Linked DNA regions of Homo sapiens: region 1 is linked to region 2. The links are contacts of gene promoters, found by promoter capture Hi-C in blood cells and fetal thymus (Javierre and others, 2016). All regions are on one chromosome and are shown on one strand. The core of a region is centred on a gene start or on the middle of the fragment in contact, and the rest is flanking DNA. Distances in the headings are between cores, read along the strand shown. Region 1 overlaps CCNJL (cyclin J like). Region 2 holds the start of C1QTNF2 (C1q and TNF related 2).

The links. The method cuts DNA at HindIII sites, captures the fragments that hold promoters and counts their contacts. A CHiCAGO score of 5 or more calls a contact.
Region 1: a fragment that was not itself captured here is called in contact with the fragment with the promoter of C1QTNF2 in region 2 in 3 of 17 cell types (neutrophils, M1 macrophages and M2 macrophages); the score reaches 6.5 in neutrophils.

The regions. Positions count from the first base shown.
Region 1 is chr5:160,250,939-160,255,701 of GRCh38, forward strand. It overlaps CCNJL (cyclin J like), which reads right to left. Exons shown (of 6, transcript NM_001308173.3): 5 at 4,611-4,763; 6 at 1-2,860. The coding sequence ends at 2,440. Among named protein-coding and RNA genes, the nearest start is that of FABP6, 24 kb to the left of the region's middle. The HindIII fragment of the contact is 171 bases long and covers 3,429-3,599 here.
Region 2 is chr5:160,369,246-160,373,742 of GRCh38, forward strand. C1QTNF2 (C1q and TNF related 2) reads right to left here and starts at 1,381. Exons shown (of 3, transcript NM_031908.6): 1 at 1,267-1,381. The HindIII fragment of the contact is 8,188 bases long and covers 1-2,721 here.

The sequences.
Region 1 (4,763 bases), core at 2,264-4,763, 120 kb before region 2:
GACAAGATGGAGGCTCAGAGAGAGGTTGGGTCAACTGCCTTCCAACAGCTGGTAAGTGGTGTGATCATTAAGTTTATGTGGCAGCTTGGCTAGGCTACAGTGCCTGTTGTGTGGCTAGGTACTAGTCTAGATGTTGCTGTCAAGGTATTTTTAGATGTGATTAACATTTACAATCAGTTGACTTTAAGAAAAGCCTCCATAATGTGGGTGGGCCTCATCCAACTGGTAAAAGGTCGTAAGAGCAAAGATTGAGGTTTCCTGGAGAATAAATTTTGCCTCACGACTGCTAACACAGAAATCATGCCTGAGTTTCCAGCCTGTGGGCCTGCCCTACAGATTTTGAACTCTACTGCAACATCAGCTCTTACCTGAATTTCCAGCCTGCTGACATGCCCCACAAATTTTAGACCACAGCCTCTGCAATCACATGAGCCAATTCCTTAAAATAAATCTCTCTCCATATATATCCTACTGGTTTCTTTGGAAAAACCCTGAGACGGTGATGGAGCTGGGGTGTCAAGCCTTATACACCCCTCCGCTGGCCTCTGTGTGCCCAGGGAGGCCCAGCTCCTACTCAGAGGGCAGGACTCAGCTCCCGAGGTCTTGCTGCTGCCCCCAATATTCCACCCTCTACCATAGGGAGATGCTCACCAGGGCTGATTTGAGAGAGGGAAGGAGGGGCCGGCCCAAGAGGGGATGCCTAGGACAAGAGGTGAGAGATCAAGAGCAGGTGACGTGTTTATTGTGGGACGCCTCTTTCTGGGGGTCGTGCTGGCTGTGAGGGAACCCTCACAATCCCCAGGTCCCAGAACAGACAGATACAAGAACTTGAATCCAAACTGCTTGCACATAAATAGAACGGAGGTTGGCAAAGGAAAAAAAAACAACAACAAATGAACGTGCAGCCTCCTATGCTAGTGTGACACGGTGGCAGAGTCTTATCCACACCCCGTCTCTTTTCTTACTGTCTCCATGCTGAGATTTTCAGCTGCTCTGGAAAGATTCACCACCTTCCGATCTGACTCAGCAGCAGACAGCTGCCTTCCTGGCGGCCCCTGCCACAGTCTCCAGGACTGGCAAGGGGCTAAGGAATCCAAGACAGGTATTCCTCAAACAAAACAAAAATTGCTTCCACGGTCCTTTGCACCTCCCAGTTCTGCTGGGTGAACAATGTGTCCCCCAACCCCAAACTAAACCAAAGAACATGCTGAGCACAAGCTGCGAGTCAGAATAAAAACATATTGCACATGGTTACAAGAGTCTTCCTGAGGGCCCTCTCGCTGCAGATCCCTAAATACTGGCTTTTGATCCAACCAGTCGCTTGCCTATCAATGGTGGTATCAAACGCCCATGTACATCCCACTCCCCAAATACAGGTGGGACTAAGCAAATTTTCCACATTGCTATCCTTCGCTATCAGCCACACTCAAAGCCTAGACTGGGTTAAACTCATGCCCTGTAAGTATGTGGTGGAGAGAGGTGGGAACTGTTTAAATCTTTGTCTTCCTTTCAACGAGCTTCTCCCTCCCTGGGTAGTTATTAAAGTTCTAGTGGTGAACACAGCCTCCAAGACGTGGAATCTTCCGGAACCGAGAGCTGGGAAAATGGTTCTCTCCAACCATATGCCTTCAAAAAGGAAGCTCTGTGGTTACCTGCGGGTCCATCACAAGTTGGGTTCAAACTTGGGTTCCAAATTAACAGCCCTCATGTGGGACAGGCAGTGTGGCAATTAAATTTGTTTTTTTCTCCAAAGGAATTTTCAAGTATCACCAAATCCCTGATACAGTGTGTAAACAAGACATCTTACGAAACAGAAAGCAAGACCACTTCGGGAAGCAGCAGCACATGACATATCTAAAAGGCTGAAAATGGTTTTAGGTTCGAAAACAAAGGCAAGACAGCCACCCACTGTGCCTCGCAAGGCAAACACTCAGGCATACACACCAACTCAGGCCCCTCTGCATAGAGCCAGGGAAAGAAAAGCACCCAATATGGGATCCTCCGGGGGTCCTGAGAACACGCCAGGCTGCCCCTCCTTTTTCAGCGGTGTAGCTGCCATCAGCAAAGAATAGAAAAGTCTTTAATGCTAAAAACTGGACATGCTTGAGATCAGTGGTCTGTGTCCAGTTCCCACTCTCCTGGCCTCTTATCAAGTCTTTCTCGATTCACTGGGCCCCTGTGTGGGGGGACGGCCACCAAGCCATCCTTTTGTACCCTAGCCACACGTGGCAGACGTTTCTCAGAGGAATGCTCTCGGGTGAGGTATGTTATTGAATGTTTTGCTCTGGGTCAGTTTTATTTAAAAGGAGCACAGACCCTCCACGTTCCAAGGCTCTTCAGGGATGGCCTCCTGCTGCCTCACTTGGCTGAGCTCTCCTCTTCAGTGTCCTCTTCCTCTGCCCACATCTCCAAGGCTTCCTCGTGAGGTCTGGAGGTGGCCTATCTGTCAAAGCAGCCGGTGGGGAACATGTGGCTCCCACTGAAGTAGCTGCTTCCATAGGTGGTGGCGAGGCAGTGCCTGGGCTCAGCTGCAATGGCCATATGCATGCTAAGGGATGCAGGGACGGGCACGGGACACATATCCAAGGGCTGCAGCGGTTGGTACGGGGTGTGGAGGGATGAGCCTGTACTCCCCGAGAGCAGGCTCCCTGAACGGTGGGCCTGCAAGGAGTCCCGATAGGCCAAGCATAGGTCCTGCACGGGGGTCTGGAACTGTGCCAGGGTGGTCGCTGGCTGGCCGAGGGCCGGGTAGGCTGGTGGCTGGAACAGCACTTGAGTGGGGGTGGGGGGTGTGCCGGGCACCATTGCCAAGGCCTGGCTCTTGACGGCTACGGCATCCTTGAGGACGTTGTCATACACTCTGAAACGAGAAGACCTGGGTGAGAACTGGAGGCCAAAAGCCACCAGATGCCTGTGTGTGTCTCTACCTGTCTTGCTAAGTGGGACTGGAAGAGATGCGTGTGTCCTGTGTCCACCAGGCCTTACCTGGCTGTGCTCACTGTGTGTGGCACCGCTCCAGCTGTTCACAAACTAGATTCAGGCCTTGGCTCTCAGCTTGGATCTGCTTCCTACAGAAAATTTCTTCTGGCCCCTCCAGACTAGGCTGGCTGTCCCCACAGCCCCATGCTGCCCTATCTCCACAGTCAATACCCCAGAGAGTAACCTGCTCCAGAGGGTAACTTCTAGTTACCTGGCTTCCAGGAGGATGGCGCCTGCTTGTGCTCACCAATGCCTTCCCATCCCCTGGCACTGGAGTGTTCCTGGGGCCTGAATGAGCCCAATCTCTGCTTTCCAGGCAATTCTGGGCCAGCTCCATCCCCAGCGGGGTCACTCCTTAGCTAGCTGATATCAACCAAATTGACCGCTGGGGCCTAGGATTTTTCATCTGAAAAGGGGGCTGGAACAGAGATTTTTGCCATCTCAAAAAAAGCTTCCCATATAGCTTTTTGGGAAAACAAAACAATTAGAGGCTTATGTAAGGCATGCACCGACACTCAGACCAGGCTTTGGGGACCTTCTCAAAAACACAAATTTTAAAATAAGGCCTACGGAGTAGGACTGACTTTTCAGAGGAATGAGATAAAGACAGCTGCCAGCAAAGCTTCCCACATCGGGGAGGGCTCTCTTCAGGGGTCTAAGGGCTTCCGCTTTGCCCACACAGCCCACCAGTCAGTCAGGCCAGCACCCAGGATACGCAGTGCCTGGCAGGTGGAAGGGGAACTGGACAGTGTGTGCCTACTGGGAATGGCTCTGTCCTGTTTGCCTTGCTCCCTGCAGTAACTATGGGGCACATTTACCTCCAGTGTCAGTTTCAGGGTGTTGGGCTCATGATGCCTTTAAGTATCTTCTCTGACACACTGAACATTTCCTCCCCAAGATTCCCAGGGACCCTTGCAGAGGCTGTGGCGCTTAGGGGAGCTTACTGGCTAAGAGGTCAGCTTTGTGACCATGTCTGAGAAAAGTAGCTTATAATGGAAGTCCTTCAATGCGATTATCTATAAGATTACACTGGGACTTAGATCAAATAGCCTAGACATTTAAAGGTGCAAACAGCCCGCTTCTCCCTTGCTGCCTGACTTTAAAGATGTAAACCCGGTCGGGCGCAGTGGCTCACACCTGTAATCCCAGCACTTTGGGAAGCTGAGGTGGGTGGATCATGAGGTCAGGAGTTCAAGACCAGCCTGACCAACATGGTGAAACCCCGTCTCTACTAAAAATACAAAAATTAGCCAAGCGTGGTGGCGCGCACCTGTAATCTCAGCTACTTAGGAGGCTGAGGCAGGAGAATCGCTTGAACCCGGGAGGCGGAGGTTGCAGTGAGCCGAGATCGTGCCATTGCACTCCAGCCTGGGTGACAGAGCGAGACTCTGTCTCAAAAAAAAAATAAAATAAAATAAAAAGCAAACCTGAAGCTATTCAAAATAGGAAGAACTGGTTCTCGAAACCCCACTTCTACCAGGAGTCACCATGGCCCACTTTCCCTGAGACCCTGTAGCTGGAAGAACCACCACAAGTTCCAGACTCTGGAAACTGCCCGTGGCCTGAGGCAGGCCTCAAGGCAAGAGGAACCTCACTATTTCAGAAACACAGGATTCAGGGGAGAAACTTACACCAGCAGGATTTCAATACACGTGCTGAGGTGCTCCAGGGAATAGCTTGAGATCCTCTGCAGGTCTCTGGTCCAGTAGGGAGAAAGCTGCAGGCAAATCCTGGAGGCCCCAACACAGGCCGCAGCGACCACAGAAGGCTGGAATTTGTAGAAT
Region 2 (4,497 bases), core at 131-2,630:
CTTTTATAACATTTAAAACAAAAGGTAAACCTAAGGTTTAAGGATTGGAAGACTGGTAAGTGTGGTATCCCTGCTAGGAGATGGGGAGAAGTCAGACATTTGGGAGGAAACAAATTCTGCAGTGAATCTGATGTGTTACAATGAAGGGCTGTAGTGATGCTTGGAAATGTGTGGAGAGTTTGAGGATCGGGCAGTTGAAAGCAGGAGTAATTGATATAATTACTCCAGATGACAGAATAAATTAGAGAATGGTGCAGAGGGAGGGCAAAAATAAGGATGTGAGAGGACAGATTTTTAACAGTGCTAACTGAGCACCAGCCTTGGATTGACCTATGTAAGACATTGTCTTTCTATTACTGCTACTTCAGCATGGTGGAAACACAGGGTCTCTGAGAGATGGCCAGTCTAAGGAAGGGACCTCTGCAGGCTTCCAAGCAGGGCAATTTTGTGGTCAAGGAGCAGAGGAGGATCACAATGAGGTAATGCAAGGGACTCATGGTGTCAGAGGAGAGACCTGGGCTGGGAGACTATTAGGGCCCACTGCAATTATTTAGCTGAAAAGCGAGGTCCTAGAATGGGGCAGCAGCAGTGGGGATGGAGAAATAAGGACAAAGCATATTAAGACAAGTAGTTTAGGTGGGGAAGGAGAGTGAAGAGAGTCATGAGGCATTGAGTACAAATCTCTGCCTGCCGTTCAATACCTTTTGAGCTCAGTTTGCCAGTCTGTATCATATATTTAAATAAATGTGAAGGTTAAGTGAAATAATGCATTCAGTAAATGTTAACTGTGATTGTTAGCTCGGGTATTGGACTCAGATTTACCAGACTTCAAGTCCCTTTTTTATCAATTACTAGCTGTGCAACCCTGTCCAAGTCATTAATGTCTCTGAGCCCAGTTCCTCTTTTGTAGACGGGGATAATCTGTTGTCATGAAAATGAAAGAGCACAAGTAAAGTGCTAGCAGGACTTGGCACAAAGTAGGCGCTCAATAAATGGCAGAGCTACGGGTGTTACTATTGTAACGGGTAAACCACTGGGCACAGAGCCTGGCACACAGTAAGGACTCAAAACATGTTAATTTGTATTATAATACGAAGGTAGAAGTCGAGAGGCAGGAATGCAGGAGCTGCCCAGCCCGCAATAAAGGCGCGCTGGCAGCTCTCCCACCTTCCGCATCCCGCCCCGCCCGCAGCAGTGCGAGTCCTCCTCCTCCTCCTCCCCGCGCGCACTTGCCGCCCCCGCCCGACCGCGGTGCGGGACACTCACCCTCGCGGCTGCCCGCCACGTCCAGGGGCGTCCGGAGCAAAGAAGCTCTCGGCGGGGCTCCGCGTCCCGGCTTTCCTCAGCGGCAGCAGCCGGGCAGAGCGTCGGCCCCAGGCATAGTTTTCCCATCCCGTCATGGGCGGGAGAGCCTTCCTCCCGGTCACGTGGGCTGGCCCGCAGCGCAGCATTCTCTTTTTAGCAGCTGTTTGGAAAAAACTTGCAGTGCTGATGACAACTCGGGTGTGTCGATGCATCTCTGCGTTTGTAGAGCTTGTTAGCGTATTTGGAGGTTTTGTGCGCCAGAGTGATCAGAGTGATTGTTTCCCACGCGTTTGCAAAGGTGTGCATGTACTTGAGTGTGATGATAAATCATAGGGATGTGTTTAGTTGTGTGTGTGCGTACGTGCGTTTATCCAAATTTTCATCAGGGCTGTTCGGTGTATGTACACATGCATGCACATGTCCAAGATGGCAGCTTGGTGTAAAACTGGAGGGCACATCAGTGGTTGGATGTACACGATAGTGGCTAGACATCTGTATGTGGGGTGCATGTTTAAATGTGTGTGTGACTGTGCAGGGGCTCATTCTGTGTGTTGGTTTGACATCTGTATGTGGGGTGTATGTTTAAATGTGTGTATGACTGTGCAGTGGCTCATTCTATGTGTTGATTTCTATGCATGCCTTGGTGTGGATTTTGTCCGGATGTGAGTGTGCACATACACACTAGTGTGGGTGAGTTCCCCTGTGTACCAGCTCTCATTTCTCTTCTCCCCAGAAGGTGAGGATTCACTGGTCTCACTCACTCTGGCCCAGCCTCAAGTCATTGAGAGACTTATGGAGGGTCTCAGCTCCCAGGATAGGCAAAGCAATCCTATTTGGGAATCAAGCAGGCACTGGAGGAAAGGAAATCCTCCAAGGCCTGGCTTTTGCTTCTCCCTGTTCCTTCCACTGCTCTCTTCCACTAGCTACCCATATTTCACTCTGCACAGCCAGAGCATCTGGTTAACAGCTGGTAAGTGACACAAAATTTACAGTCAGAATTTTAATACAGATATGCATTTGAATTCTAATGTTGTATCCACCACCTTAATCAAGTCAGATAATCTCACAGATGGTGTTTTATTTTCTAAAAAAAATGGGAGAATAATATTACCTGCACTGCCTTTACCCCAAAGTTGGGACACTAACTCATAAAGATGTTTGGTAAGCCATTGAACTATGTAGGGAATTATTACTAATATCACATAAATACTATTTGAGAAAGAAAGTTTGTAGGCTTAACAAACATTCATTCAACAAATATTTAATAAGCATCCATTGTGTGTCAGTCCCCAAGCAAGGTGCTGGGGACATAGAGGGAAACAAATAGGCTTGATGCCTACCCTCATGAAACTTAGAGTCCTCCAGCTGGGGATGACACAAGTGGTTACAAGTGAAATGAGTGTTATAGAAAAGAAAAGCTTAAAGTATAAACTGGGCAGTCAGGGGAAGGCCTGGGAAACTGATGTTTCAGGTGAACCCTGAGAGATGACTGAGACTTGTCTGAATGTAGGGGAAGTGTGAGCTCAAAAAATGAAGGAATGATAACATGTGGAGTGGAGTTTAGGGTGTTGATACACAGATGGCTGGAAAGGAAACTTCCATCCACCGCCTCTTGGGTCAGATGTGTCAGCAATTGGAAAGGTGAGGAAACTGCTTAGAATGCCTGGAGGCCATTCAGAATCTAAAGGGCTCAGGAAAGCCCCTCTCCTAGAGTAGAGTGGTAATATCTGTGTGTTATCCATGTGGCTCCATCATGACAGAGGTTGAAATCACTGGCATGCTCTCATTGGTTAAAAAAAAAAGGTTAATGAAAAGTTAAGAAAGGCAGTGCTGCTATACCTGGTAGTGTGAAACATTTAATAAACACTACTGATTGAATGAATGGGGGCACATGTTTTTCCAACTTTTGAAGGATACCTGGAACCTAGGTTTCCTGAAGCCTAGCAGAGTTCCTGGGTCCCTGTCCTATGGTTCCTTGCAGTGGTGATGGCTTCATGTAGCATGCAATCCAAAATACTTGTCCGGTGGCAGTTCCACGAGCTGCAGGAACTGTGTCAAGCTAGAATGGGGCTTAGAACTTCCTCTCCCTAGCCTCTCTCTGTCTTTACTCTCTGCTTGAATTCAGTCTACGAACATTTGTTTGTTTGTTTGTTTAAGATGGAGTCTTGCTCTGTTGCCTAGGCTGGAGTGCAGTGGCACAATCTCAGCTCACTGCAATCTCCACCTCCCGGGTTCAAACGATTCTCCCGTCTCAGCCTGCCAAGTAGCTGGGACCACAGGCGCGCAACACCACACTAGGCTAATTTTTGTACTTTTAGTAGAGATGGGGCTTCACTATTTTGCTCAGGCTGGTTTTGAAATCCTGGCCTCATGTCATCCAACTGCCTCGGCCTCCCAAAGTGCTGGGATTACAGGCGTGAGCCATTGCACCCGGCCACAGTCTATAAACATTTATTACCTATTATGAGTATGGGGACAAAGAGATGAACTTCTGAATGAGAACACAAATTACACCAGGAGGCAAAATACAATTAAGTGCCATAGGAAAGGTGCAAAGTGTGAACATGAAAGAGGAGGATTTTCCCCTTCGATTTCATTCAATTCATTTCACATCCATTCACATCTAGAGAACATGCTAGTATCCACCTAGAGAAGACGAATGATATTATGACATTGATGGCCACAGAGCGGGGCAGCCATGAGGCAGATGTGGCAGATTGGCTTGTTCCACAATTGTCCAAACTTTTCTTGGTGTGCTTTCCTATACAACAGAGACTAGAAAGCTAAAAATCCATTTCCTAGACTCCTTGCTGTTGGGGCTCCCATTATAATTTAGGTTTAGCCAGTCCTGTGCACCTGGGAAAGACCTGAATTCAAAATTGTGTTCAGAAAAACAAAAAACAAAAACAGTTATGTGAAGAGGAGGTAGCAGCCTGGGAGGAATCCACTTTGCTGGTGGTGACCTGGAAGATGCAGTGTGACTCTAGAGTTCTGCCAGTTCCTGATCCCCAGATTACACCTAAGATGTTGTGTTCTTGTAGTCAGACTAGGCCAGTCGCCGGCCTCCTGATTGTGGCAGAAGGCCACATCCCTTGGGGTGGTGGGGTTAGTACGACGGCAGGTTTTGGGACTCATTCCTGCAAGCCCAAGCCAGAACTTGTTCTGCAATGGTTCTGAGTCTATTTGATTCTT